Regions from separate parts of the Homo sapiens genome. Here all the other regions are linked to region 4. The links are contacts of gene promoters, found by promoter capture Hi-C in blood cells and fetal thymus (Javierre and others, 2016). All regions are on one chromosome and are shown on one strand. The core of a region is centred on a gene start or on the middle of the fragment in contact, and the rest is flanking DNA. Distances in the headings are between cores, read along the strand shown.

Region 1 (4,608 bases), core at 1,785-4,284, 1.5 Mb after region 4:
GGCACTGTGACGCATGTCACTGGAATGACTTGTGGTGAGGCCAAGCTGCCACTTCATCACGGGCTCCCATCCCAACCCACATTTTCCATTAGGATGTTTCCATCAGGATCAAGTTCCTCTTCAGGGATAAGAGCCGACCATCTTGTCTTCCTGTTCTTCATAAAGGCAGCTTGAGAAAGCCCATAATCAGTGGAGTCATCAGTAGCTGATTGAGTTCCTCCTAAATGTATTGGTAAAAGAAAGATCTGTGGGTCATTTTAGTCATTCACCCTGATACCTCCCTATCACAATGGCTTCTTCTCCCACCTCTCTCTACTCATGTATTTAATATGCATAATATCTGGTACCATTTCAACTTTATTGAAAGGTTTTACGATTATACTCTTGCCCTAAATTTGAAATCAAAATTTTCAATATGTGCAAGAGTACAGAATGAAAGAGCATTTATTGAGATAAATCCAAATGGAAGAAAAAATACATTAATTCAAGTATGCAAATAAACAGGAACATTTTGGGTTTCGGTGATCTAACTAATGTTCTCAATAATTCATTTGAGTATGTAAAGAAGTTTTAAAGGAAAGAAAGGACAAAGTATGGGTATAATTTTCATGAATTCATTTTCATCATTCAAAAGTGATTCTTTCTCTTCTACTCTCCTTGAACCATTATCTAAAGGCTGTCTGCAACCTAAACCTCTAAAAACACCAGTAATTTTAGTGTCAGTATCTACATGTTAAAACTTGTTTTGGTCTAATAATTTGAGATATATTATGGTTCTATTATTTGTAATTTTGGTAGCTTTTTTGTTCTATTAATCTACATATGAAAACATGTTATATGTTTAAGATTTTTATTTTGATATAGATCATTTATTTTATTCAAAACATAATTTAAAATAAAAATACTTTCATATTGCCTTGATCTAACATTCAAGAAGATACATTTGTTATGTTGAATAATAACCAGAAAGGACAAAAGTTTGAAAACAGAAAATGGTGGGAAATAAATCTTACCAAATCAAAAAAGCCCCAGTTTAATTTTATAAAGAATGAAGACATAAGGCAAAGGCAAATAACCACTCTAATTTAAAATTATATTTCAATTAGCACTTTGTAAAGTATCTTAACTTGCTTTGTCTGACTTGGAAATGAGACAAAAGTTTCTGAAAGAGCAGGCTCTGAAAATATTTATGAATAAGAAAATAAAAGAAAAAAGAACAATTGAAAGCCAATAGGTGCTAAAAAATAAAAAAAGAGAAACATTATAAAACACCTTTTCAAAGGTCTTCTAATGTACAATATTTAAATACAAACAGTAACTAGTGTTACACCAGCTGCTCTCAGGTTTGCAAAATATATCAAAGTACAGCATATTGGAATGAGTCCTGAGTTTCCATTTACTTTATCTATCCAGACACATCAATTCTTTTTACTCCAGCCTGATAAAGTGGAACTGCCGCAGACAAATGAGCTAGTGGAGCTGACATAATGTGTTTGTCACAAAGAAGCGCTGGATAAAAAAGCATGACTTTGATCCTCAATGAGGTTACTATTTTACAGTACCCTGAATTTAACTCTAACCTGATGCCTTGAGTCACCGTTCACTGTTTATTGGCCAAAATTGATTCTCATTTCATCTCTAACTGTTAAAGGACTGGCTCCTGCAATCCTTAGATGAGTAAAATCTCCTATCAACCAAAAATAATACTAATAATAATCATGGGAAATTAAAAGCAAAAACTTGATTGATGATCTCTGTGTGACATTATAAAAACTACCCCGAGTTGGGGACTAGAGGTAAGCAAGTAGGTTGACGATCACTTATCACAAACCCAAGGTGTAATGTTATTATTTTAAAGGAAATTTGATTTGTATTTAAGCAATAATACATACCAGATAATTTCTAGATAATTATTTATGTCTGAATTTAAATGTATCTATTGAGCAAATCAGATACATATATATTTATGTGTATGTGTCTATATGTAATTCTATTCTTTCTTTTTATAAAGACTCAAATATTTCTGAAAATAAAGCTTTTGTTTTGAGTTCTGAATAACATGAAACATTTGCCTATTATACCCCTGGGCTCCTTTATCCAAGCAAATTAATTCAATGGTTTTTATTTCATTCATCAAACAAATAAAAAATACCATAGGTAGAATCTGTCACTTGTAAACAGACATAGAAAAGAATAAAACAAGGGGTTCCTAGAGACCAATCCTCCAAGCAGATGAGTAAACATTGCCTTGAACAGTCATAATGGGGGAAAACGATTCTTTCTCTGATACCTGATACTGCAGCCTCACACATTTTTTTTCTTCTTCTATTATTATTATTATTTTTTTTAGTTTGTGGATCATTAGCCCAACAAATGAAGAAGTGAATTGTGATGAATGAAAATTAGTACTGTGAATCCAAATTACTGCATTAAACCCAGGCTGGCCATAAATTACATGTTAACACAATTCGATACAAGTAAGACAGAAAATACTGTCCCTGACAGTGATCTTTAACAATTAAAATATATTTCTTCAACTCAATATTTGGCTGCAATATACTAAAGAAGTTATGATATTCTCATATTGCAAAGTTATATTTAGATTCTACGCAGGGTTAATTATTCCTCACAAATAACGTGCTCACTCATGGTCTCTTAAGTAGATTTTTTGCGGTATATCTTTTGGATTGACTATTATTGATGCACAGCAGTGTTTACAAAATACATCTCCATCCCTTTTCATGATGATTTGAGTTACAGCCATATTTTAAGCCATCCATTAAGCTCTTTTTGTACCCTGCAAATTCATCAGTGGCCTACCTACTGGACACACCTGAGTAAGCAGTAGTAGAGCAGAGATGTAGAGGTGAATGAGATCTATTAGGTAAGCAGAGATCAGAAGGACCAGAGAAGCTATAGTACTAAAGAGAAGTCAGGTTTACTGTACAGAGGAGCCTTCACTGCTTCAAGCCAAGAAAATCTGGTAACATAGAAAATGTCCCTCTGTGCGTACTTTTACCCACAATCAATTGGTGAGATTTGGTCAGCTGATGATTTCCTAAAAGTTCCGTCTGTCCACGTCATCCATGCAGTAGCACAAGATTCATTTTGATCTAATGTCTGAAGCAAGTTCAGATAATAAGATGATGACAAGATCTGAAAGATCAGGCTGGGCGCGGCGGCTCACGCCTGTAATCCCAGCACTTTGGGAGGCCGAGGAGGGCGGATCACCTAAGGTCAGGAGTTCATGACTTTATTAGAGACAGGTGAAACCCTGTCTCTACTAAAAATACAAAAACTAGCCGGGCATGGTGGCAGGTGCCTGTAATCCCAGCTACTCAGGAGGCTGAGGCAGGATAATCGCTTGAGCCCAGGAGGCGGAGGTTGCAGTGAGCCGATATCGTGCCATTGCACTCCAGCCTGGGAGACAAGAGTGAAACTCTGTCTCAAAAACAAAAAAACAAACAAAAAAAATCTGAAAAATCACGTGAAAACTATGCCAAAGAGTTTTGGGAACTTAAAGAAATGCAGAAGTCGGTGTTTGTTGCTGTCCAAGTTCTTTGAGTGTATGTGAGCAAGAGATGCCACTATTTTCCACTGATATTACCTGTATCCAGACTGATGCTAAAGGCTGAGATAAACACAAGCATGCATCCACTGCCTCCATGCAAGTCCTACTCAGTACTAAAGATGGACGCTTGGTAAAAGCCAGATACAAAACATTGCTGCCTTCTGTTAGCCTGGAAGCACATTGACTAAAGATGTTCTGATTGCCCGTGGGGTAGAACAATGAAACAATGAAGCCAGTATGTGCAGAAGCATGTAGGAGGAAGACTTGGGGCCAATGAGGCAACAAACTGCATGCCCAACACATGCTCCAGGGCACTGTGCTAATGCCCAACTTTCCATCTGGTTGAGTGAGTTAGGTCCAGCAAATGAATTCCTTCCAGCTTCTCATGCAGTTCCATCTTTGTCCCCTATTGAGGAGCAAAAACATCCTGTTGGTAAAAGCCACTTTCAGTGGTTCAGTGGGTAAAGCTTCTCCAGGCTGGATTTGGGAGTCTGAAATTGTTGGGAAGACTGAAATGATTGTTCCTAGAAATTTAACCCAACTCTGTCATGCCGGCTATCAAGTAGAGATAATAAAACACCGTCTTAATGAAACTTCTGAGATGAATCTATATTATTTTAATTTTATAACATTTAAGATTGAGGTCAAGAGACAATATGCAATATTCCGCAAGTTACTCAGCTAAGAAGTGGAAGGGCATGTATTTGAACCTAGGTTCTCTTGTACCTACCTAGTTCATCGCTTCTGCCATATTTCCTAGCATTCAGCCAAGAGAAACTACCGGACATAATCTGTGAGGCCAAAAGAGTGTGAACAGCAGAGAGGGCTTGAAACAATGGAGAAATTCATTCATCTTTATGGTGACGCTATTGTTGAGATCAGCAGTAAGCCAAACAACAAATTTCACTTGTACAGAATGTGAAGAGGTTATTTGTTAATTTTACTCCTTCTCTCTAATGCGGAAATTATATATACACATAAAATTTAGAGACAGGGCCTCACTCTGTTGCTCAGGCTGGAGTGCAGAGGTGCATTCA
Region 2 (4,056 bases), core at 1,433-3,932, 1.9 Mb before region 4:
TCTGGAAGGCAGGATGGTAGCATGTGTTGAGTGTCCGCCAGCGTCTGCCGCTGTGGTAAAATGAGCGGAGATAAATGAAAAGACTTCTGGAATGGGCCCATGAAGATAAGTCCGTTTTACTCATGAGCAGATTGAGTTTGGTTAAGGTAACAGTGATGTGGATAGCCTCTGGAGACAGAACTAGTCCAAGTACCAGCTTTGCTCAGGTTATTGTTCTGTCGTGCCTTGTCACTCCAGCAAAAGAAAAAAAGGAAGGCATAAAAGTTGTTTGAAATGCACAAAAGTGTAGGGCGTGCCAAGCAGTGTTCTGCTGCCGTTGAAGTTAGTGCAAATTGGAAGTTGAGGCATCTGGTAGCTTCATGCTTTTTGCTTTTACCCCTGCCCCTCTCCCAGTTTCAGATGACTATCTTCTCTTGCATTATGTCTCTAGTTTCCCTGTTTTTTAAACATAATTGGGACACACGGGTTCACAGTAGGTTGGAATATATATATATATTTTGAGACAGAGTCTCGCTCTGTTGCTCCGGGTGGAGTGCAGTGGCACGATCTCGGCTCACTGCAACCTCCCCCTCCCGGGTTCAAGCAATTCTCCTGCCTCAGCCTCCCGAGTAGCTGGGATTACAGGCGTGTGCCACCATGCTCGGCTAATTTTTTTGTATTTTTAGTAGAGACGGGGTTTCACCATGTTGGCCAGGCTGGTCTTTAAACTCCTGGCCTCAAGTAATTCACCCAGCTCGGCCTCCCAAATGCTGGGATTACAGGCGTGAGCCACCGTGCCTAGCCAGGTTGGAATATTTGAACCCAGGATAATTGGTTACTTCATTGGTGTTGCACATTCGATTCTGCCTCTTGTGTCTTCTCTATGAACCTTCTTTGCTCTGTATCCCCCTTTGGATAACTAAATGATAATGTATGTGAATCTGTCCCGCAGCTCCTGTGATTTTCTGGGCAAAAGCTTGGTCTAGAGGGGCGGGATCTGAACAGTAAGCTAATGGATGGAGCTGTTTCCTGGGTCTTGCTGTTTTCCGGTTGGGCTGCTCATTTCTTTCGTGCAGACTTTTGGAGGTTGTGGTCTGGCCTTTACAGTCACGTCACATGTAGTCGTCATTGGCACCGACTTGCTCCTTGGCTGCCCTTCCTTTTCCTCCTGTTTTTCATGGGTATGCTGTTGAGCATGCCCATTGGTACACTGATCATTTGACAGGTTTCGTGATTTGTGAGTGTGTGTAGACACCACTATTGGTATTAGATTTAGAATTCTAATTTTGGGTTTGTTGACATCATCTTTTTGCTGCTTATCTCATTCCTCTATCCCTCCTAGGCTGATTTTATTTGGAAACTGAATTTGGATTCCATCTTTGCCTTTCTGGCTGTGAAATTACCTACTTTTAGAAAGCATCTCAAATCTTATATCTGTAACTGTCATTCACATGCCTTTTGAAGACCAGTCTCAGATTTCAGAGGACCTCCTGGAGCATAAACATGGTATTCCACAGATAACTTAAAGCCAGAAATTATTTTTAAAACTAGGACTTTCAGCCTCCCTCTCACTCCGGGGGAAAAAGTGATTAAAACACAAACACTGTTTCTCTTTTATTCCTTAACATGGTTAATGACATTAACATCTCTTTGAATGTTCTACTAGAAATGCCAGTTATCCTTGTTGCTCTTTATCTTTTATCTTTCTGTCTTGTCAAACAAAGCCATGTTCTTATGCACCTGCAGGGTCTGCTACTCTCAGGCCTTTGCCAATTCTCACATAGGTTGATATGGTGGCTTTCTGAGTTGTTTTCCTGACAATCTCCATGTCTCTCCACCTTCTATCCTCTCTCCCGAGTCACTGTCCTAAAGTGTAAATTTGATTGTGTAATGACCCTGCTTTAAAAATTGGATGAGGCCGGGCGCGGTGGCTGACGCCTGTAATCCTACCACTTTGGGAGGCCGAGGCAGGTGTATTGCCTGAGCTCAGGAGTTCTAGACCAGCCTGGGCAACACGGTGAAATCCTATCTCTACTAAAATACAAAAAATTAGCTGGCTGTGGCGGTGTGCACCTGTAGTCCCAGCTACTCGGAAGACTGAGGCAGGAGAATCACTTGAACCTGGGAGGCGGAGGTTGCAATGAGCCGAGACTGTGCCATTGTACCCCAGCCTGGACCACAGACAGAGTGAGACTCTGTCTGAAAACAAAAAACAAACAAACAAACAAAATTGGATGATACCTTGAAGCCCCTACCTGATAAAGTCCAATTTCTTTTTTTGAAGCCCAATTTCTTTATCATTATGTGTAAGGACCTTTGTAGTCTGTGGCTCCAAATTCCTTTTCCAGCCTTATCTCCTGTCATTCCTCATCAGGGAACCTCTTGTTTTGATGAAGCCCAGCTTTCCTGCCACTCTAGTGCATTGTTAATGCCTCTGTATTTTTGCACACATTGTTTCCTTCCGCCTTACTGAATCCCATGATTCTTTCAAGACTCAACTCTTCGTGAAGCCTTTTTCAACTTGCCTAACTCTATTTATGTTTCTTTACTATCATAACACTTCATGCATGCATTTATGTAGTTGTTATATTACTTTATCTTTAGTAACTTGTGTTTGTTTTGGTAGCTGCCTTATGGGTAGGCTTATTCACTTTTGTATCACTAATGTCTAAAATAGCATTTAACACCAAGGATACCATAAGACAAAGCTCTCATGGAGTTTAAAATGAATCTGGGACATAGCAGATACGTAAAAGTAGTTGTGGAATGAATTGACTGTAGAAAAAGCCTTTCAAATATATAAAATTATATTCTAGACCATAAGTAGTGATCTTTCTCTTGTTTTTCAAACATTCCTTTCTTTCTTTAGGAAAAACATAGAACGGAAAGCCCAGCCCATCCTTGTTGGCTGTCATACACGAGTGCTGTCTCCAAGGGAGTCACAGGTGTCTCAGATGTGAGAGGATCCCGGGGAGATTGAGCTTACTGCCTGGGAACTTTTGGATTTCTGGAGAAGCAGGCTGTGGTAGCCTGGCTCTGCGTCAGTGAATACCTGGGAAAGGAGCTGGAGCTCTATTTTGCTTGCTTTCTGCATTCGTTTCTTTTAGAGCTAATGGGGACACAATATTTTGAAGTTTTTCCATTTCGGGTCTACAGCATTTAGTGGTATTTTCCTTATAGTTATGTTTTCCAAATACTTCTCAATTTCTTTGGTTCTGACATTTCACAATGATTTTAAAAAAATGTAATATGGAAATTAAACTTGAGGTTTTCAGAAGCTGCTTTCAAGGTGTCTAGATACAGAGTGAAGAATGTCACAGTAGGAAGTGCACTGGACTAGGGGAGTCAGGAGACCCGGGTTCTTGTGTTGGCACCATCACTCATGAGCTACGAGGTGACTTCAGGCAAGTCCTCTCTGAGCCCCAGCTTAATCATGGCACAATTGTAGGATTGCTTTGAGGGTCAGACGAGAATATAGGAAAGAACTGCAAAAGCTGTAAAGCACTTAGGAGCTCTGGGAGAGTTGAGAGCTTCAAAGCCAAGGAAGACAGCCCACACTTCAGAAGAAGTGCTGCAGCTGCACATTTGTTCGTTTAATCAGGAATTGTTTATGAAGCAATGTGTGTTACATGCTGGGTGTGAGTACCTCTCTACTCCTTCCCACTAGAGCAGAGAGCTTTTAGTCTGGGATGGAAGACGTATTAAATACAGACTTATACAAATAATTGTTATTAATATAATATGTAATACAGTGCAATTAAAAACAATAATTCATATAAGACACATGTTAAATGCACACTTACACAAAGAATTGTTACAAGTATCTCGGGTGTACAGGGCGGTTTTATTCCTGCGAAGTGCTTCCTGGCTTGAGTGAATACTTTTATGGTGCTGGAGTTGAGAGATAACACAGTTAACTGTTGAAATTGGGCCATTCCCGTTTCACAGGCTGCCATTGGACCTGTCAAGTGCCTGAGTCATGTGATAATGGGCTACATTGCGCAGGGCCCCTGGGCCATCTCCACAGGAGATGCCAGAGGACGAGTGCCCACTTGCTGGTCTTCACAGAGCACGCTG
Region 3 (4,253 bases), core at 864-3,363, 1.4 Mb after region 4:
TTGGTTTTCAATGCTGCGTTGCCATTTGGTTTTCATTCATAGGAGAAGTTTAAAAGGAGAAATGAGATCTTACATGAAAGATTGTGCTCAGCACTTTTTATTTGGCAGGGGAAAATATGAGTGGAGTTATTTCACCTAAGACATAGAATTATTTTGTTACGTGAAAGACATTATTTATATTTTCTTATGTTAATACAAATATATAACGCATTCAAGGTAATCCACAAAGCTAAAATGAAAATCCAGTTATCTGAGATTTGTTTCCTTGGCATACGTACTAACCAGTCTATAGGGGGCCTTTGGCACATAAATGTTCATTTACTTTGAGCTTAGTGGCATCAGCCATTTTTAACAAACCATAAACTGCTAACAAGCTTCAACATAAAGAAGAAACATATAAAGACAATATGGATAAGATATGTAAATAGTAACACCCTGACTTACAATGACTTTTTTATTTGAAATAACTTTTATTAAGCAGAGTGAACTGAATGGATCATTTTCATGTATATTCACCCATTAAAATAATTTAAATATTTTCTTTAAAAAGAAAAAAATTGGTATTTGTTACCTTTCTGTTTTTCTGCTATATATTTTCTTAATATGTAAGCAAATGTTTTCTTTCAGAAAAGTTGGAATTCATCCAAATTACAACAACAAAAAAATATGCACACAATTAAGTATTCTTAGAAGTGCTATCCAGTGCCCACTTTCTTCTTGTTTGGAGTACATGTGTTTATATTCCACTCTTCAGGCCTTGAGCCTGCATACTGGGCTGTCTTTGTGTGGCAATATGGTTAGTTCATTTAATAAATTAATCATTTTGTTACTAATATTATTTTAAAATGCACACGTACCGTTCATATTTCTGTTCTGATCTCAATTACTGTTTGGAGTACTTGAGTTTATAAAGTGAAACACTGCTGTCATTATAGGATCAGTTTTTGAGAGTTTTGTGATGGCTTTGTCATTGGACATGCAAAAGACCCAAAGTGACAATACAAAGTAAGAAAGAATGGGAAGACTTGTTAAGAGAGAGCATGGCACTGGATCTCAGTTGTCCCTTGCTAGGAATTATTGTCATATACTCAGTGCTGACAACTATAGGTTGGAATTTTGCAGTGCAGTTGCCTTAAATTTTAACCGTGGAAATAAGCCATTTTCATACCCTTCCCATTGAAAACTGTTGTAAGGCTTGGTATCCTGAAAATCTGCATCTAGGAGATAGTCTAGTACGCTCCTGGTCACTTGGTAGTCCTCTAGGTTATCAGATTGACAGATCACAGAAAGAAGGGTGAATATAGTATAACAAGGTATTTTGAGAGAGAGAACTTTTATTCACCTAATTTTTATTAAAGTATATTGTTATATTTGTTCTATTTTATTATTAGATATTGTTGTTAATCTCTTGCTGTGCCTAATTAATAAATTAAACTTTATCGTAAGTATGTATGTATAGAAAAAACGTGGTATATATAGGGTTCAACGTTGTTTTGGGCATCCACTGGGGTCCATGAAACGTAGCCCCCGTGGATAAAGGGGGGGCTACTGCACACTTAAATATGGACTACTGTTATTCCCTCTGCAAATACTTCTTGGAAAGTTATTAAATGAAGATAATGTGGAGTCCTGTACAAAAATCAGTCAACTTAATAATACTCCAAAGACATTAGGCTTTTTAATTACTGGTAGAAAAGCTGTTGTATAAGTCTCACTTTGTATTTCAACTTGAAGCAGCTTCCTAGGATTCCATACCAAGATCTTCCCCTTTACCTGTCTATATTTTACACTGAGCTTGAAGAGATAGTTTAAGATTGGCTGTAGGAGAAAAAGCCAGAATACAATGGTGCATTTATAAGAACCTAATACCTGGGCAATGTGTTATGATGTTTAACTATTTAAAAAGAAAGACTTTATACTGGGAAATTAAGTCATAAAGATGCCACCATTCCCATCCATTGACTCCACATACCGCTACCCTCCAATGCCAAAGTCCACAGAATTTGGCCATCAAATATCTATATATAGTTTTGATGAAGTTAGGAGATTTACCTAAATTTATGTAATGTTTTATGCTTGTAAATTTGATCTAAATAGAAAAAGTAAAGTAAACCATTAAAAACCTCAATGGACAGTTGATGCAAAATATGGAAAAATAAGAATATCAATGGATGCAATCCAGTATGAAAACAGGCCTCATTAAAAGCGAAACATTCTGTCCTCCTCCTTTACAACACACTTACAAGATTTCCAAAATCGCATTTAGATGGTAGTTTTAAAAATGTATGAAACTGAATCAAAGTAAAAAATGTTTCACAGTGACAAAAATATACAAAGCAAAAGTTGCTGCTAAAACCAAAATAGATTACTTCTAGTTTTAAATATATATATTTTTGACAAAATTATGTTTTAAAAAAATCTTTTACAATCTATAAATAATAATTCTGCTAAATTTACTGAATGTGAACAGGTAATAAATAAGAATAATGGTAACTATGAATAGAAGAAAATACTTTCCCTACTGTATATACCTGACTTCAAGAAATTTATCTCTCTGCTGTCATTCTCTTAGGCCAGATGCTAGTTTGGAAAAAGGAAAATAATATCATAATATTTTTTGGCATTACACCCTAATTAAAAGGGCAGTTGGCAAAATTTTGTTGCATATATAACTTGATTTCTAGAGCTACAGTGTTTGAAAACATCATCTGGGCTAGGGATGCAGGGCAGCTAATAAGACTATCTCAAACAATATGTCACTAATCCAGAAACTGTAATTTCCTATCAAAACGAGGCATTTTCCTTATATGTAATGTGAATATTCTTCCCTAAAAGCATAGAGTGTGTAGTGTAGGAGAAGAAACTTAATTTTTGGAGGAACTCCAAAGGCTTGCTTTTTATCTGATGTTGATAAAGAATGGAAAATATCAAAGCATAACAGTGATTTAATTTTTTAAAACACCCACACTAATTCTCTTCCCATGAATTCTCAGTACTTTCAAACAAGCAACGTTTTAATACAGAAGCAATTAATTTCTGTATTCCTCGATTTGTATGACATTTACTAGAGCAAAATCCTCAGGATACCTGAGCTTTAACATGAGCAATAGACCTCAAAAATGACACAGGAAGATGCCATAAGTGCCTGTATCTTACATAGGAAATGGTGGCACCCTTATGGCTATCTTAATATGACCGACTTCCCTAATGGTATCAGACAGGCTTCAATCAGGAAACAGATTCTATCCAGTAAATTCAATAGAGAATGTGTAAAATACAATTTTTTTAACTGTAACAGAGGATTGGAATCATAGCTTGGGATACCAAGAAGTATAGGTAATTCTAAAGAATATAGAATAGCAGATTCTATTCCAAACGCTGAGAGAACACACCCAAGGTAAGAAAAAATCTGGAAAAGGACCCTGCCCCTCCAGGGCTGAGATCCAGACCTCACTGGAGAGGGCATGGCAGTGGCCCTGGGGATGCGGAGTTGCTGAGGTGCCATGCCAGCAGTAGTCACTGAGAAACTGCCCTCTTGAGTGTCAGAGGGACGTCACTAATGGAGAGATGCCCACACAAGTCCCACTTGGAATTTGTTACCGGAAATGGCACATTGGGAAACCTCCCTCTTGGTGTCAGGGAATGTCCTGCACCACCAGCTGCCACACACTGCAGGAGCCTACTGAGAGCGAGCACAGGCTGGCCCAGGATGATGAACCCATTCCTCTGCTAGGTTCCCGCCACACCACCAGCTGCCACACACTGCAGGAGCCTACTGAGAGTGAGCACAGGCTGGACCCAAGAGGAAGAACCCATTCCTCTCCTAGGTTCCCACGAGTGCCTTCTGCCAACGAAGCTTAATGGCATGCCAACTGTCCAAGGAGAAAGGATGAGAAGCCACAAGCAGGACAATACAGGTTTCCTTGGAGCCAAGAGGCAATAGATTGGTAACTGCCATACTCCCCTCACCTAATGTTTTAAAAATGCCATCAGTTAATTTTGTTCTGAATCTCTGAGGTGGTACCACCACATTACAAAAGCAAATTGCACTGTGCATTCATTCTAAATGCCAGGATTATTTGTGGTTGTTTGTTGTATTCATTATGAATACAGGTTCAGTTCCCCTTATTCAAAATGCTTGGGACCAGAAGAGTTTCAGATTTTGAAATGTTTGGATTTTGGAATATCTGCAATATATTTACCAGTTGAGCTCTCAGATCTGAAAATCCGAAATCCAAAATGCTCCAGTGTGA
Region 4 (4,346 bases), core at 935-3,434:
TCTAGAAAAAAAAAAAAAAGAAAAAGGGGTGGAGGGAAAATGGGTTATATTCTAAATTCAGAATATAGAGAAAATTAAATTTGGAGAAAACTAAAAGTCCTAATAACTCAGAGCACAGAGGACTTTTTGGGCAGTTAAACTATTTTGTGAGATTTTATAATGGTGAATACGTATCATTATGCATTTGTCAAAACCCATAGGATGTACAACACCAAGAGTGAACCCTAATGTAAACTATGGATTCTGGATGATACTGATGTGTCAATGTAGTTTCATCCATGGTAACAAATATAACACCTCGTTGCAGGATGTTGATGATGAGGGAGACTGGAGAGGGGAGCGGAGGTCCTAATAACCAAACCTATAACAGTCTATTGCTTTTGATCGAATCTTGATTTCAAGGAGCAGTTGGAGGACAACTGAGGAAGTGTGAATGTGTATTAGATGATAAAGAGGAACTTCTATTAATTGTGTTATGTTGATGACATATACTATGGTTATATAGAAAAGTATCCTGAAATTTTAGAGATGCCTATTTAAGTATTTAAAGGTGAAATATCCTGATATTGGTATTTACCTTAAAATATTTTTTAAAAAGTAAATACGGCAAAATTACTTAAAGTGTTAAGTCTGGGTGTTACAGACTGCATGTCTGCGTCCCCTCAAAGTTCATATATTGAACCCTAACCCCCAAGGGAATGGAATTAAAAGGTGGGCCTTTGGAGATGACTGGATTTAGATGAGGTCACAAGGGTAGAGCCTGCATGATGAACAGGGTGGGACCGTATCTCAAAAAAAAAAAGAGGAAGAGAAGTTTCTATTAGAGCTTGCTCTATCTGCTTTGTGAGGATAGAGGCAGTTTCGCAAACCAAGAAGAGGACCCTCACTAGAATCTGACCATGCCAGCACCTTGATCTTGAACTTCCCAGCCTCCAGAACTGTGAGAAATAAATTTCTGTCATTTAAACCACCCAGTCTACTGCACTTTATATGGCAGTCCAAGCAGACTAAGACATTAGATAATGCATATACAGGTATTCCTTAATAGAACTAAAGAGAGTAACTGTATCAATATTAGTATGAGTCCTACCTAAAATACCTCTTCCTTCACTTGCAGAAACACTGGATTAGATTATTCCAATTGCCTCAGTGTTCTTCCACCCTTACCCAATCCAGTCCAATCTCCGGAGAAAAATATGATCACATCACTAGCCTGCACAGCATTCAATCAACCACCTCTTTAATGGGGAAAAGTGTAAATTCCATAGTGTAGCCATATAAGGCTTTTCGAGATCTGCCCAGACTCCTTGAGCCACTCTATATATACTTCACTCATTTAAAACTCAGCGACAATCCTACAAGTAGGTGAAATTATTATTCCCTCTTTACAGATAAGTAAAGGGGAATATAAGTAAATAACTTGCCCAAGACCACACGGTTGGTAAGTGGCCCTGCTTGACTTTAAATTTTGACAGTCTGATATATCCATAAACCAGATAAATCCATAATTTTAACCACAATATTATTCTGTGCCCGGTACAGTGTAGGTGCTCAATAAATGCTTGCTAGATGAGTAGTGTGGAAGAGCTTAGCTCTCCTTTTTCACCTGATCCCAAAAGAGGAGTGAATCCTAACCACCCTGTTTCTCTTAAGAGTCAAGTCAAGTAAGAGCTGATGACTGTTACTGGCATTGCCCGGGCGTCTAGTATTGCAGTATCCCCGCCCCTGTGAGGGGTGCAAAACCTTTTCTGATTTCATTTCTTTGGTGGTGGGGATCGGACTGGGGAGGAATGAGGGGTCGCAGAACACAGGCTGCCCGCTGGGCCCGGGGGCTGCGGGGAGGGACGGCTCTCGTGCGCTGAGTAGTTGACTCGCCCACTGCAGACCTCAGAAGCCTCACGACCCGGACCCCGGGAGCCCCAGCCCCGCGCCCTCAGCCCCGCGTCCAGGACCTGATCCTGGATTGCCAGGGGCCCTCCTGGGAAGACGGGGCCACTCCGGGCCCACTCACCTCGTCCCGGCACTGCTTCTGGCACATCTGGCAATACCAGCGTAGCTTCTGCAGCCCCTTGGACTTGATCCTGTTGGCGATAGCCTTGGGAGTAAGAAAATCCGACTTCCCCATGGCGACCACGGCAGCGATCACTTTCTGGACCCCAGTACTCAGCCAGCCGGAAACGGAACCGGGCTGGCGGCGGTGGGCGGGACAAATCCCAGCTGAGAGGCGGAAGGAGGTGGGGCCTGGGAAGACTGGGTTGCAACGGTCGCGAGACTCCCCTCGCCGTAGCGCGAAGAAACGAGACTGAAGAAGAGAGCAAGGTGGGAGGGGCGCGCTGGGGAGCTTCGGCGCATGCGCGCTGAGGCCTGCCTGACCGACCTTCAGCAGGGCTGTGGCTACCATGTTCTCTCGCGCGGGTGTCGCTGGGCTGTCGGCCTGGACCTTGCAGCCGCAATGGTATGGCAGCTTGCGGGAAGATCGGCAGGACCGCAAGGGATGGAAGAGCTTGGGCACGGGGCAGGGAGGAGGAGATGGGCGCGGGGGCAGATGTGGGGTCGCAGGGCCTAGCTGGGCCCCTGGCCCGTCGGAGGCGCCGGGTAGCGGGGGCTGCAGGAAGCGGCTCTGAGGTCGGGCAAGGTGTGCGCAGGGCCGGGCTCCGGCGGAGCAAGGTCCCGCCCGGTTCCCTGAGGTCGGAGGGCCACCTGGGACCTCGGGACTGCGGCCTGAGTCCAAATTGACGTCTGGGCGGTCTTGAGTTCCCTCAGCTAATCAGCACTTCCTGAGCTTCCACTTCCACTGCAAGCCAGGCCCCCAGTCTCAGGGCCTGCAAGGTGACGGGAGCCTGAGCAATAGCCCAGGGGAAGGTTAAGTCGTGCTTTTTGTCCTTGACGCCCTTTGAAACCCTGTAGTGCTGGACAGAGTGACCCTTTAAGATTCGATCGAGTCAGAGAGCGCGGCCGTCGAGCACCTCCCGTGTTGCAGACGCTTTGCTGGGTGCTGCAACAGCAAAGGCGAACATCCTAGATGCCTCTGAGGGTGGTTTTGGTGCAGAAGGGACCGTACAGATCTGTCTGAGGGCGGGGAAGGGAAGGACACCTAGCACTACCTTGAAACCACTTGCTGAAACCGTAACCCTGCAAGGTCATGAAATTGCCCCCAGGTCCTGGGGGAGGAGTTCGGTGGGCTTTTAAGTGGCATTTGTTAACTGACATGCAACTAAAGGGTGCCACGAGCCTCGAGAATTTTAAACATTAGTTCCGGGTAGGGGGACCTGGGCTGGGGGAAGTGCATATTAGAAGGCCCGGGAATGGGCAGGTAAAAGTTGGTTTGTGGGTGGTGCTGTTCAGTTTTGAAGCTTGACGGAATCTGGAAGAATTCCAGACACGCTGCTAAGGGGATTCTAGGCTGTGTCGTAGCAATTCCCTGCTCTTAACAGTGTGGAGGATTTCTAAGGCGCTACAGTGCTAAACTAGATTTTCGTATCCTAATTTATATGAAGGGACCATAAAGCATTAGTTGAAATAAATAGGTTTTTCATTAAGCAAATAACTGATAGTAATATACGAGATTTTCAGAATGATATCTGATGTGAATTAGCCACATAAAATTTTTGGTGGCTTGGCCTTGGAAGTCAGATTTTTTTTTCTCTAATATGGAAAAAGAACATTCATGGGAATTAAAAGGTCACTGTAGTTGAATTCTCAGTTGTATAGATTGTCCCACTTGTTAACCACTCAGCAGACATTAGCTGAGTGCTTCCACTCCACCCGGTGGTACTTGGAAAGTGCCCAAATGTGATGGTGAGCAAATAGATAAGGTCTCAGTCAGTTTCCTGGGACAGTGCCTGGCATGCAGTGGTGCTCTGCGAACATCAGCTCTCCTGGCCTTACCTTCTTGCCACGCATTAATGTTATCTGTCAGTATTTTTACAACCTTAGTTTCTAAGTTGATCTTTAAAAAAGTGGAAATAGTTTCTGAAACAAAGACAATATTTTACAAAAAATTTTAGAAATATCTTTTTTTAAAGCACCTGTAAGATAATTTGAAGCTCTTTTAGTGAAGGATTGTTTTAAATAAGAGCTCTCAGTTCAAGACAACTACTGTTAGGAGCTTAAATCGGAACCACAATCAGCATATAAAGGTCCTAATCCTGACCTTAATCCCTTTGGAATATTGGTTTTATAAATCATCAATCAACAGTGTTCCACTATGAAAGCATATTCTGTCTTCTTCTTTTCATGTATTCCTTCACTGCTGGTGCTTAATGTCTTTCCTTCCTCTTCTGCCATTTCTCTTTCCATGAATTATAATTGCCTTTTGAATTCAGAAATTAAAACCACTCCACAGA
Region 5 (4,171 bases), core at 884-3,383, 2.0 Mb before region 4:
TGATCAGGAGTACAAAGTATCTAATAACTAATATTAAAGTGCCTTTTCAAAACTACTTACCTAGAAACATGAGAAATTAACCAGAAAAATTTTAAATCAGTTCATTTCAATGGCAAGTATCTTACAGCAACATAATAAAAATGGCTGTTTTATGAAGAATGTTTCTTTAAATGACTCTGCCCCTCTAATGCATCTCATTAAAAACTGTCAGCCAGGCGCGGTGGCTCATGCCTATAATCCCAGCACTTTGGGAGGCCTAGGCGGGTGGATCACCTGAGGTTAGGAGTTCGAGACCAGCCTGATCAATATGGTGAAACCCCATCTCTACTAAAAATACAAATATTAGCTGGGCATGGTGGCAGGCACCTGTAATCCCAGCTACCCGGGAGGCTGAGACAGGAGAACTGCTTGAACCTGGGAAGCAGAGGTTGCGGTGAGCCGAGATCACATCACTGTACTCCAGCCTGGGCAACAGAGTGAGACTCCATCTCAAAAAAAAACAAAAAAAAAAACTGTCAAAAGATACCTTCTCTTGAAATGTGGCTAATTATATCACTCTCCTGCTCAAAGTCCTCTCTCACTGCCTTGAAGATAATTTTCACATTTCTTAGCCTAGAATCTCTCTCCAAAGCTTCTGTTTCAAGCAAAACAAACCACTCCCCATTCCCTACATACATCCTTGACTTAGCATTGACTTACACTGACTGCTCTCTGCCTAAAAAATCATTCCTCCATTCAAACCTTGCCAATATTTTTTTAAAGCCAGCTAAATATCTCCTTCTTTACGAAGGTTTTCCTGATTCCCTGACTGAACTCATATAAGTGCACCTCTTAGGGGACTTAATGCTTTCTCATACTAATTCTTATTAGTTACTCTCCAACACGAGAACAAGCTACTTATAGACAGGTTCTGTGTTTACCTTTTTACTGCCCATAACTGATCACAATAGTCACTGGGTTTAAATAACTGAAACTGAAACTATTACTCCAGTAAGAGTCTCCAATCAGGTACCATGGGAGGGAAGACAGAGGTAATTGCAGTGTATCACGCATGTGAACATCTACCAGTGGTCTTTAAAAACCAATGTCACACTATTGTCATCTCTACATGCTAAAATATGTCTAATTTCACTTATATTTTCTTTTGGCCAGGATGCTTAACGCTGGTTTAAACTGCCTACAACACAGCTCCCAAGTGTAACAGCATTTGCAAATATTGATCCTATGCTCACTACTGTAGTGAATAGAAAGTCCTTTGTCTACAGAACTCTAACACAGCTATAAGCAAGAACTCTCAAAGAGCAAATCAAAGATTAAGCAAATCCAAGAGGCAATCTGAATTTTAGTTCAGAATTTTAAAATCAAGTATAAAACCTTCTCTGAATCTGAAATCACAAAATTCTGATAAAGAGAAATGAGGAAAAGTATCTGGGATGTAAAGCAAGTTTTTAAACATATGATGCTGAGAATCATCTGGTATACATCACTAAAGTATATATTTCTATTCATAAATTCTTACTGTGTAGAACAAAAAATGGGAAGAAAAAAACCTCTGGGAAGCACAAACAGCTGTGGAACTAGTTACTCTTATTGTTTTAATCTACTATGTCTAACAAGACTCGTGAATTTATTTCCAAGTCCATAGTGAACTATGTGCAAATTATGTGGTGAGAGGCTGCCTACACATGCTGAAAGCAGAGAAAAGTAAATGTTGCCAGCCTAACAGTAAAGTAAGATAGAGGGAAAAAATATGAAGAGTAAACTGAAGAGCTCAAAAAGCATAGCAGCCTGAGAGTAAAGGGGGCAAAAGTTCCTACAAAGCTGGCGGGGTCTTCATGGCTTCACCATGTTACAGCATAACACAATAGTTAATCTTCACTATGTGAAAACTTGGTTATCAAGTAAATTATGTTTCTTAGTTTGTTAAAGAAGTTGTGACAGCATTTAGAAAGGCATTATCCAAAAGCTGTGCTCTTTAGAGATAACCTTTAGTTCCTCAGAAAATTCAATTGTGTGGAATATTCCATTTCTTTTACACACAGAATGAAGATTTTACTCCTTTATACCAAATCGTTTTGTATCTTCTTGATTAAGATAACTATCAATATTTGTGATTATGAGCTTAGACTTAACAACTCATACAAACAATGGCAGCACTAAGCAACACAGCAACTCCAGCACTTCCTTACACTTCTTTAAAAGTAACAAGTTCCTAACACTGAAAGTACTTGCCTTTTTTTAGGTTCTTAAGTCTCAGGCACTAAAGTAAATTTTAAGAAAATTAATTAACTCCAGACATTCAAAAGTTAATTCTGAGTGCTAACTTTGGTTTTCTCTTCTTCTAATTTTTAATCATCTAATTCCTGGTAACACTAAAAATAAGGATATATGATTTCTCATTATCAAAATCATCCTGTCATCACTACTCCTATCAATGATGGTAATAATGTGATTGTCCTGAATTGATATAATTATCAAAGAACATCTCAGAAAACTTAGGAAGGCTCACAGAGATTAAAGTTATCACAGCTACAAAATGACAGCAGAAACAGGTCTGATTTCTAGTTAAGTATGCATCTACCATTCATCAAAGAGTTCACAATCCGAATGAAAATTTAAACAAAGCTCATTATCTTAACTTGTTATATAAAAACACTTTCACCATCTTTGATACAAAGTGATGTGAACGAGGCTTGTGGAAGCCTGCATGATGGTGGATTTGCACTCACTCGTGCATGCTTAACTGACCTCAATTGTGAGCAAATCTGAAAGACCAGCAACAACCATAGAAAAACGGTGGAACTAACCGGCTCTTAAAACACGCTGGCAGCAACACTACCCATTCCAACAGGCAAAATCCACCACAAACTACTAAGCTCAGCTTGGAATCCCAATTAGGCACTTAAAAAAAAAAAAAAAAAAGCACAAAACCTGCAGTGGGTAGGGCCTATTCATTTAGGCATCCAACAGTCTTCCAGCTTTTCAAAGACAGACACAGGATTATTCCTGGATTGGTCAAACATAACGAAGTATTCAGAATGAATATTCTCTAATAATTGCATATAACTATAAACAGAAAAATGACAGACCAGAAAAACACGATTCTAATTCTTCACAAACCTTTCCTAAAAAATTAGCCAAATAAAAGTTCGAAGGTTTTCTCTTGCCTAGAGACATCTAAAAGTGTTATTTTGGGATGTTACCTGTAAAAAAAAAAAAAAAAATTGGTTTGACCCTGAGAGATTATAATAAATTTCAAAAAATTTGAAGTGGAAGTCTACATTAAATGACTCAGGAATTTGAAGTCAGAGTACATAGGATACACAAGATTTACATCAGTATTCATCTTAATTATGATCAAGCAGCCCAAAGTTAGAATTTCAAATTTCCCCAAAAATTGATAGTTAAAATGGTTTTCTCCAAAGTGAATTCTTTTGCAAGATGAACATTTAAAAAAAAAAAAAAAAGAACAGAAAAAGTACAAACTACAGAACCTGCCTGCGTTATCTACAGATTACCTAAAGTTCCCTTAGAAACAGATAACCAGGAAAATCAATATACCATGATATTAGGTACACCTTGCATTCATATATTACAATGCATTCTTCATGTTATTATCTTCCAACTCCCTGAAGAAAGCTTCGGAGTACAGAGAACTTGGCTTTTAGCAATCCATCACCAACCCAATTCTTAGGGGAAAACAGTCCAGAAGAGACAAAGGAGGCAGAGAACCCACCAAACAAAAGGAAAAGGCGGCGAAGGTCAGGTGCGAAAGCATTTGACGGACAAGTTTTGAAAAAACTCAATTCCAATTCTACAGATGCTCAGTAAGTGAGAAGGGAGGGTGGCTAAAAGGATTCAATAATACTTCTCATTAGCAGGGGGGAGAAAGGATTAAAAGACTAATTTCCACGTTTTCGCCAAAAATATAAGTTAATCAAGCCCTAGCAGTTCCGAAGCAGTGATTATCCAAGACTTGTCAGGAAACCCCGTACTCGGCTTTGGCAGCCAGACTGACCCGGGGCAGCGGCCGAGGCGGAATAGGAAATGCAACCGCGAGGCCTGCACCGTCCCCTCCGCCTCGGGTGCTGGTTTCCAACCGGGCGAGGTCACCGGCCCAAACCGGGGAGCGGGACCCTTGGCCCGGGCGGCCTTCTCCCCTCCCCTCCGC
Region 6 (4,576 bases), core at 574-3,073, 1.5 Mb after region 4:
GGCAAACGCTGTTGAGTCTGCCTGTGAATGGCAATATGGGTCCTTGGCAGCCTTGGTCTACTGCAGGTATAGTCATTGACCTGCTCCCATGACCATGAGAACCACATAAACTTTTGAAGATAACATTAACCAGAGTCATAGCAAGTGTGTAGATCTGGGGTGACACATAAAATGAATCCCATAAGATATCTACAGCTACCTTGTTTTTGTTTTTGATATTAATGACCTCTGTGTTTTAGCTATGTATTTGTCTTATTTGTCTTCCCCAACACTCTAGAAAGAAGTCATGAACTTCAGCAATTTTACCTCCTCTGGTACCCCCAACATCTAGAACAGGCGTGCTACTCAGTAGGAATTGAATAAAACTGCACCAAGCAAAGGAATAGTAATTTTTAAATTGCTGAAGAAAAGATTTTTTCAACATAGATTGGGGAACTACCTAAACTATTATTCAAGAAAAGGGTCATGGCAAAAACATTTTAAACAAAAAATAAAATTTTCTGATCAACAGGACTTCATGAAAGGAACTTCAAAAGAATATTTGGCAAGGCAGAAAATAATCCCAGAACAAGAGTCTGATATGTTAGTTGGAATGATTAAAAAAAAAAAGATAATAGTAAATAGTTAAGTAAACTATAATAAATATTGATTATGCATTAATAATGTTTTCTAATTTGAAGTGAATAAATATGGACGAATTAACACAAAGTAGAACCTAAATTTTTTTAAATAATATATAACTTAGAAGGAAGCAACTGGCTTTACAAAGGTTTAATCTCCTGAAGTTTTCTGAAAAATTATAGAGATAATGAGTAATATTACATTTAATACAAATGTACATGCTACAACTTAAGGGAAATTCAAATATAAAAGATGTAGCATGTATAACTTCAAAACAGTGGAGAGAATAAATGGACTAAAAAAATCCAATCCATGAGAAAGTAAAGAGAAGAAAAAATAGGAAGCTTGAGAAAACAGGAAAAATAGAAAAAAAGAAGATGGTAGGATAAATATATAAGTAATTTTAACACCTGGAAACAGCATAAACTAGCTAATTATAGTAATCAATATTTAAGTTGGATTTAAAAATTAAAATACGATAGAATATTATTTAGCAACAAAAAGGAATGAAATAATGACACCTGTTATGACAAAGATGAACCACAAAAAACGTGTTAAATGAGAGAAGTTGGCTACAAAACCCCGCAGAATATTGTATGATTTCTTTTTTTTTAATTATTTTTGAGAAGGAGTCTCACTCTGTCACCCAGGCTGGAGTGTAGTGGCGCGATCTTGGCTCACTGCAACCTCTGCCTCCCGGGGTCAAGCGATTGTCCTGCCTCAGCCTCCCAAGTAGCTGGGATTACAAACGCCCACCACCACGCCCAGCTAATTTTTGTATTTTTAGTAGAGATGGGGTTTCACCATATGGGCCAGGTCTTGAAGTCCTGACCTCAGGTAATTCGTCCCCCTTGGCCTCCCAAAGTGTTGGGATTAAGGCGTGAGCCACCACACCCAGCCTGTATGATTTCATTTATATGAAGTGTCCGGAATAGGGAAATCTATAAAGAAAGACAGTGGATTTGCTGTTACCAGGAGCTTGAGAAGGGTGGTGGCAATGAGGAATGGCCGCTGACAACTAGGCCTCTTTGTGGGATGAAAAAAATGTTCTAAAATTATATTATCGAGTTGGTTGCAAAACTCCTAATATATATAAAAAATCATTAAACTGTACACTTTAAATAAGCAAACTCTATGTTGTGTAAATTACATATCAATAAAAGATATTAAAATTTCAACTAAATGCTATTTTTAAGACCCTGCCAAGCCAAAGAAATACACTAAGTAAAAGAATGCATTCTTCAAAATAGACTTTGTATCAAAAATAATTATTAGGGCTACAAAGTGTCACTAAATTTGAAATAAAGATCAGTTCTCCAGGACCAAATAACTATTCTAAATATATGCACCTCTTAAGAGACCCTCCAAATAACTATACTTAAAATTGACAGAAATTCAAGGAAGAATTGACAAAATCACCAACAAGTGGGAAATTTTAACAAAACATCTTATTAATAGAAAGATATAATGACAATAATTGGTTATCATATATGAGATTTTAAACAACAAAGTTATGAAGCTGAAACAAAGAGCAGAAGCAATGAATATATACATACACACATACATGCACATATACTATATATATCATATATAGACACACATATATAATATATGTGCACATACATGTGTATATTCATCATATATATAATACACATAGGATGTGTGTGTGTGTGTGTGAGATACATACCACAAGTGATGATAGGGAAAAATTAGGAGTCCTCTAAGGTACTGTACTATACATGAAGCAGTATAGTGGTATTTGAGTGGATTCAGATAAGCTGAAAACTAGTTATCTATATCTGTAATAATTTATAACTATATCTATAGTTAATCTATCTACTGATTAAAATACACACATACATTAACTTACTCAGTGAGCTTAGGGGGCCTAAAGGCAATGACACCCTGTAGCAATATGCATATCAGTCAGCAAGATCTTGGTTTCTAATAATAATAAAAGTGGATTTTGGTTATATTGCTACAACACTATATGGTTACTAAAAATCACTGATTGTACATTTATAATGATCAAAGTTTATGGCATGTACATTTTACTCAATAAAGCTTTTTTTTTAAATGAGGTATTCTGTTTAATAGTGCACTAAATATTTATGGCCTGGCTAAGATTGGATTTTTAATTAAGAAGGGTGAACATCAGCATAAAACAGTAACAAATTACATCAAAAGCTTAGTCTAAGGGAGTTAGTAAATATACAGTTTAAGATCAACTTTAATGGAGAATTTGGAACCCAGAAGAAATGCAGAAATTCAGGGTAATAAATGGAGGAAAACATCACAGCTGACAAAATTCGTGAGCACGTTATGTGTTTAAACATAAATAATCTGTGTATAAGTAGATTTAATACGTGTAAAAAAACATACTAAGTAAAATAATGCATTCTTCAAAATAGGCTTTGAATCAAAAAGAATTGTTATGTAAATAACATAAACCAGCTAACTACAAGTAACAATGATGTTGCTAGGTGATGTCTTGCATGTGGGGACAGATGAAAGTGGGGGTCTGGAGTCAGAAACACCACTCAACTTGATGGAAGGATGACCCTCAGGGGACACGATTGTGCGCACCATCAATGCTCAGAGTAGACCTGCGCCCATGAGAGTACATCAAAAACACTTTCCCGACCAGAATGTGGGATGGATGGATAATAGCCCAGAACCAGATGGCAAGTCAGGGCTACAGTTCTGAAAGTAGAATATTGGAAACTTGGATACATTGTGGAATCCAAGGCAAAGACTAAGAACAGAAGCATTCTGGGGAGAGGCTATGTGTGTGTCACGGAGAGGAAGTGGAATATGTATTTCAGAATGTGTGACAATGCCCTTGTGTGAAAGTTAGTATAATAGATGAGTTATCTGAAATCTACACTATGATGGTTCTATTGTCCTATTCTTTCTTCAATAAAAAGAGAGAGACTTTTCGCATTAAGAACAAAGCTTTATACAGAAGACATATTTTTCTTCCCATAATCATTGACTTCTTGTTTTACATGACATATTCAGACAGTAGTCAGCTGAAACACTTTTTTTCTATTAGGAAGAATATAATCTCTTCTTGAATATAATCAAGAGAACAAAAATAGTATTACTGGAGTGTTTGGGTATACCTTGTTCACTGCATTCCAACAGAGACATCTGTCAAGTCAGAGAGAAATCCTATTAAGAAATAAGAAGACAGTTGGCTTGTTATAGGATAGCAGTTATATGTGCTTATTAAGCAGCATTCCCCAAAGGTAATAATCTGACAGTTCCTTAATATCACAAAATTTCCCGTACATTTCCTCATTTCTCTATATTTCTCAGAAAATAGAGCAACTACAGGACCCTTCCTCCCTCCCTCCCTCACTCTCTCTTTCTTTTTCTTTTTCTTTCTTTCTTTTTCTCTTTCTTTCTTTCTCTCTTTCTTTCTCTCTTTCTCTCTCTCTTTCTCTCTCTGTCTTTTTCTTTCTTTCTTTCCTTCCTTCCTTGTTTCTTTCTTTCTTTCTTTCTCTCTCTCCCTCTCTCTCTTTCTTTCTCTTTCTTTCTTTCTTTCTTTCTTTTTTCTTTCCTTCTTTCCTTCTTTCTTCTTTGTGAGCAAGTATGCTTGTGATGATGATTCAGCTCAGGAACCCATGGAATAAAAGCAAAGAGTTACTTAGAAGATTTTGTAAATGAAGTCCCTTTGCACTTTGGAGAATATATGATTTCGGTCACTTAGAAAGCAAGCTATTAATAAAATACAAAGAAAAATAACACTGGCCTCTACAAGTAGAGCGTGACTGAGCATTCTATTTTTCTGCTGTGAACCACACAGATCTAGGAGCACAGACTTGGAAATAGTGAATCTTCACAAAGAGAGGCCCCCAGTAGAAGCGACTCTTTTATTTTATTATGTTGGCCTGGGTTCTGAGTGCATGGTTTGAAAGAATACACATGGAGTAGTTCTTCCCCTGGTACA

The links. The method cuts DNA at HindIII sites, captures the fragments that hold promoters and counts their contacts. A CHiCAGO score of 5 or more calls a contact.
Region 1: a fragment that was not itself captured here is called in contact with the fragment with the promoter of KIN in region 4 in 14 of 17 cell types (M2 macrophages, M0 macrophages, total CD4 T cells and 11 more); the score reaches 16.8 in M2 macrophages.
Region 2: a contact is called between a fragment that was not itself captured here and the fragment with the promoter of KIN in region 4, in 1 of 17 cell types (neutrophils). The highest score is 8.8, in neutrophils.
Region 3: a fragment that was not itself captured here is called in contact with the fragment with the promoter of KIN in region 4 in 5 of 17 cell types (endothelial precursors, total CD8 T cells, fetal thymus and 2 more); the score reaches 10.4 in endothelial precursors.
Region 5: a contact is called between a fragment that was not itself captured here and the fragment with the promoter of KIN in region 4, in 1 of 17 cell types (monocytes). The highest score is 8.5, in monocytes.
Region 6: a fragment that was not itself captured here is called in contact with the fragment with the promoter of KIN in region 4 in 1 of 17 cell types (M2 macrophages); the score reaches 5.3 in M2 macrophages.

Annotation. Positions count from the first base shown.
Region 1 is chr10:9,296,349-9,300,956 of GRCh38, forward strand. No RefSeq gene overlaps it. Among named protein-coding and RNA genes, the nearest start is that of LINC00709, 23 kb to the left of the region's middle. The HindIII fragment of the contact is 2,003 bases long and covers 2,034-4,036 here.
Region 2 is chr10:5,891,129-5,895,184 of GRCh38, forward strand. The region is part of intron 1 of FBH1 (F-box DNA helicase 1); the gene reads left to right. Among named protein-coding and RNA genes, the nearest start is that of FBH1, 2.9 kb to the left of the region's middle. The HindIII fragment of the contact is 3,459 bases long and covers 954-4,056 here.
Region 3 is chr10:9,210,327-9,214,579 of GRCh38, forward strand. All of the region lies in intron 4 of LOC101928272 (a long non-coding RNA gene), which reads right to left. Among named protein-coding and RNA genes, the nearest start is that of LINC00709, 63 kb to the right of the region's middle. The HindIII fragment of the contact is 3,482 bases long and covers 373-3,854 here.
Region 4 is chr10:7,785,809-7,790,154 of GRCh38, forward strand. KIN (Kin17 DNA and RNA binding protein) reads right to left here and starts at 2,185. Exons shown (of 13, transcript NM_012311.4): 1 at 2,012-2,185. The coding sequence starts at 2,125. It overlaps ATP5F1C (ATP synthase F1 subunit gamma), which reads left to right and starts at 2,369. Exons shown (of 10, transcript NM_001001973.3): 1 at 2,369-2,455. The coding sequence starts at 2,400. RefSeq lists enhancers at 2,138-2,457, 2,910-3,453. The HindIII fragment of the contact is 3,793 bases long and covers 1-3,351 here.
Region 5 is chr10:5,808,754-5,812,924 of GRCh38, forward strand. The region is part of intron 1 of GDI2 (GDP dissociation inhibitor 2); the gene reads right to left. It overlaps LOC124902367 (a long non-coding RNA gene), which reads right to left. Exons shown (of 2, transcript XR_007062041.1): 1 at 3,562-4,171; 2 at 1-3,203. Among named protein-coding and RNA genes, the nearest start is that of GDI2, 2.6 kb to the right of the region's middle. RefSeq lists a silencer at 3,962-4,171 and an enhancer at 4,103-4,171. The HindIII fragment of the contact is 3,008 bases long and covers 630-3,637 here.
Region 6 is chr10:9,316,869-9,321,444 of GRCh38, forward strand. No RefSeq gene overlaps it. Among named protein-coding and RNA genes, the nearest start is that of LINC00709, 44 kb to the left of the region's middle. The HindIII fragment of the contact is 1,720 bases long and covers 964-2,683 here.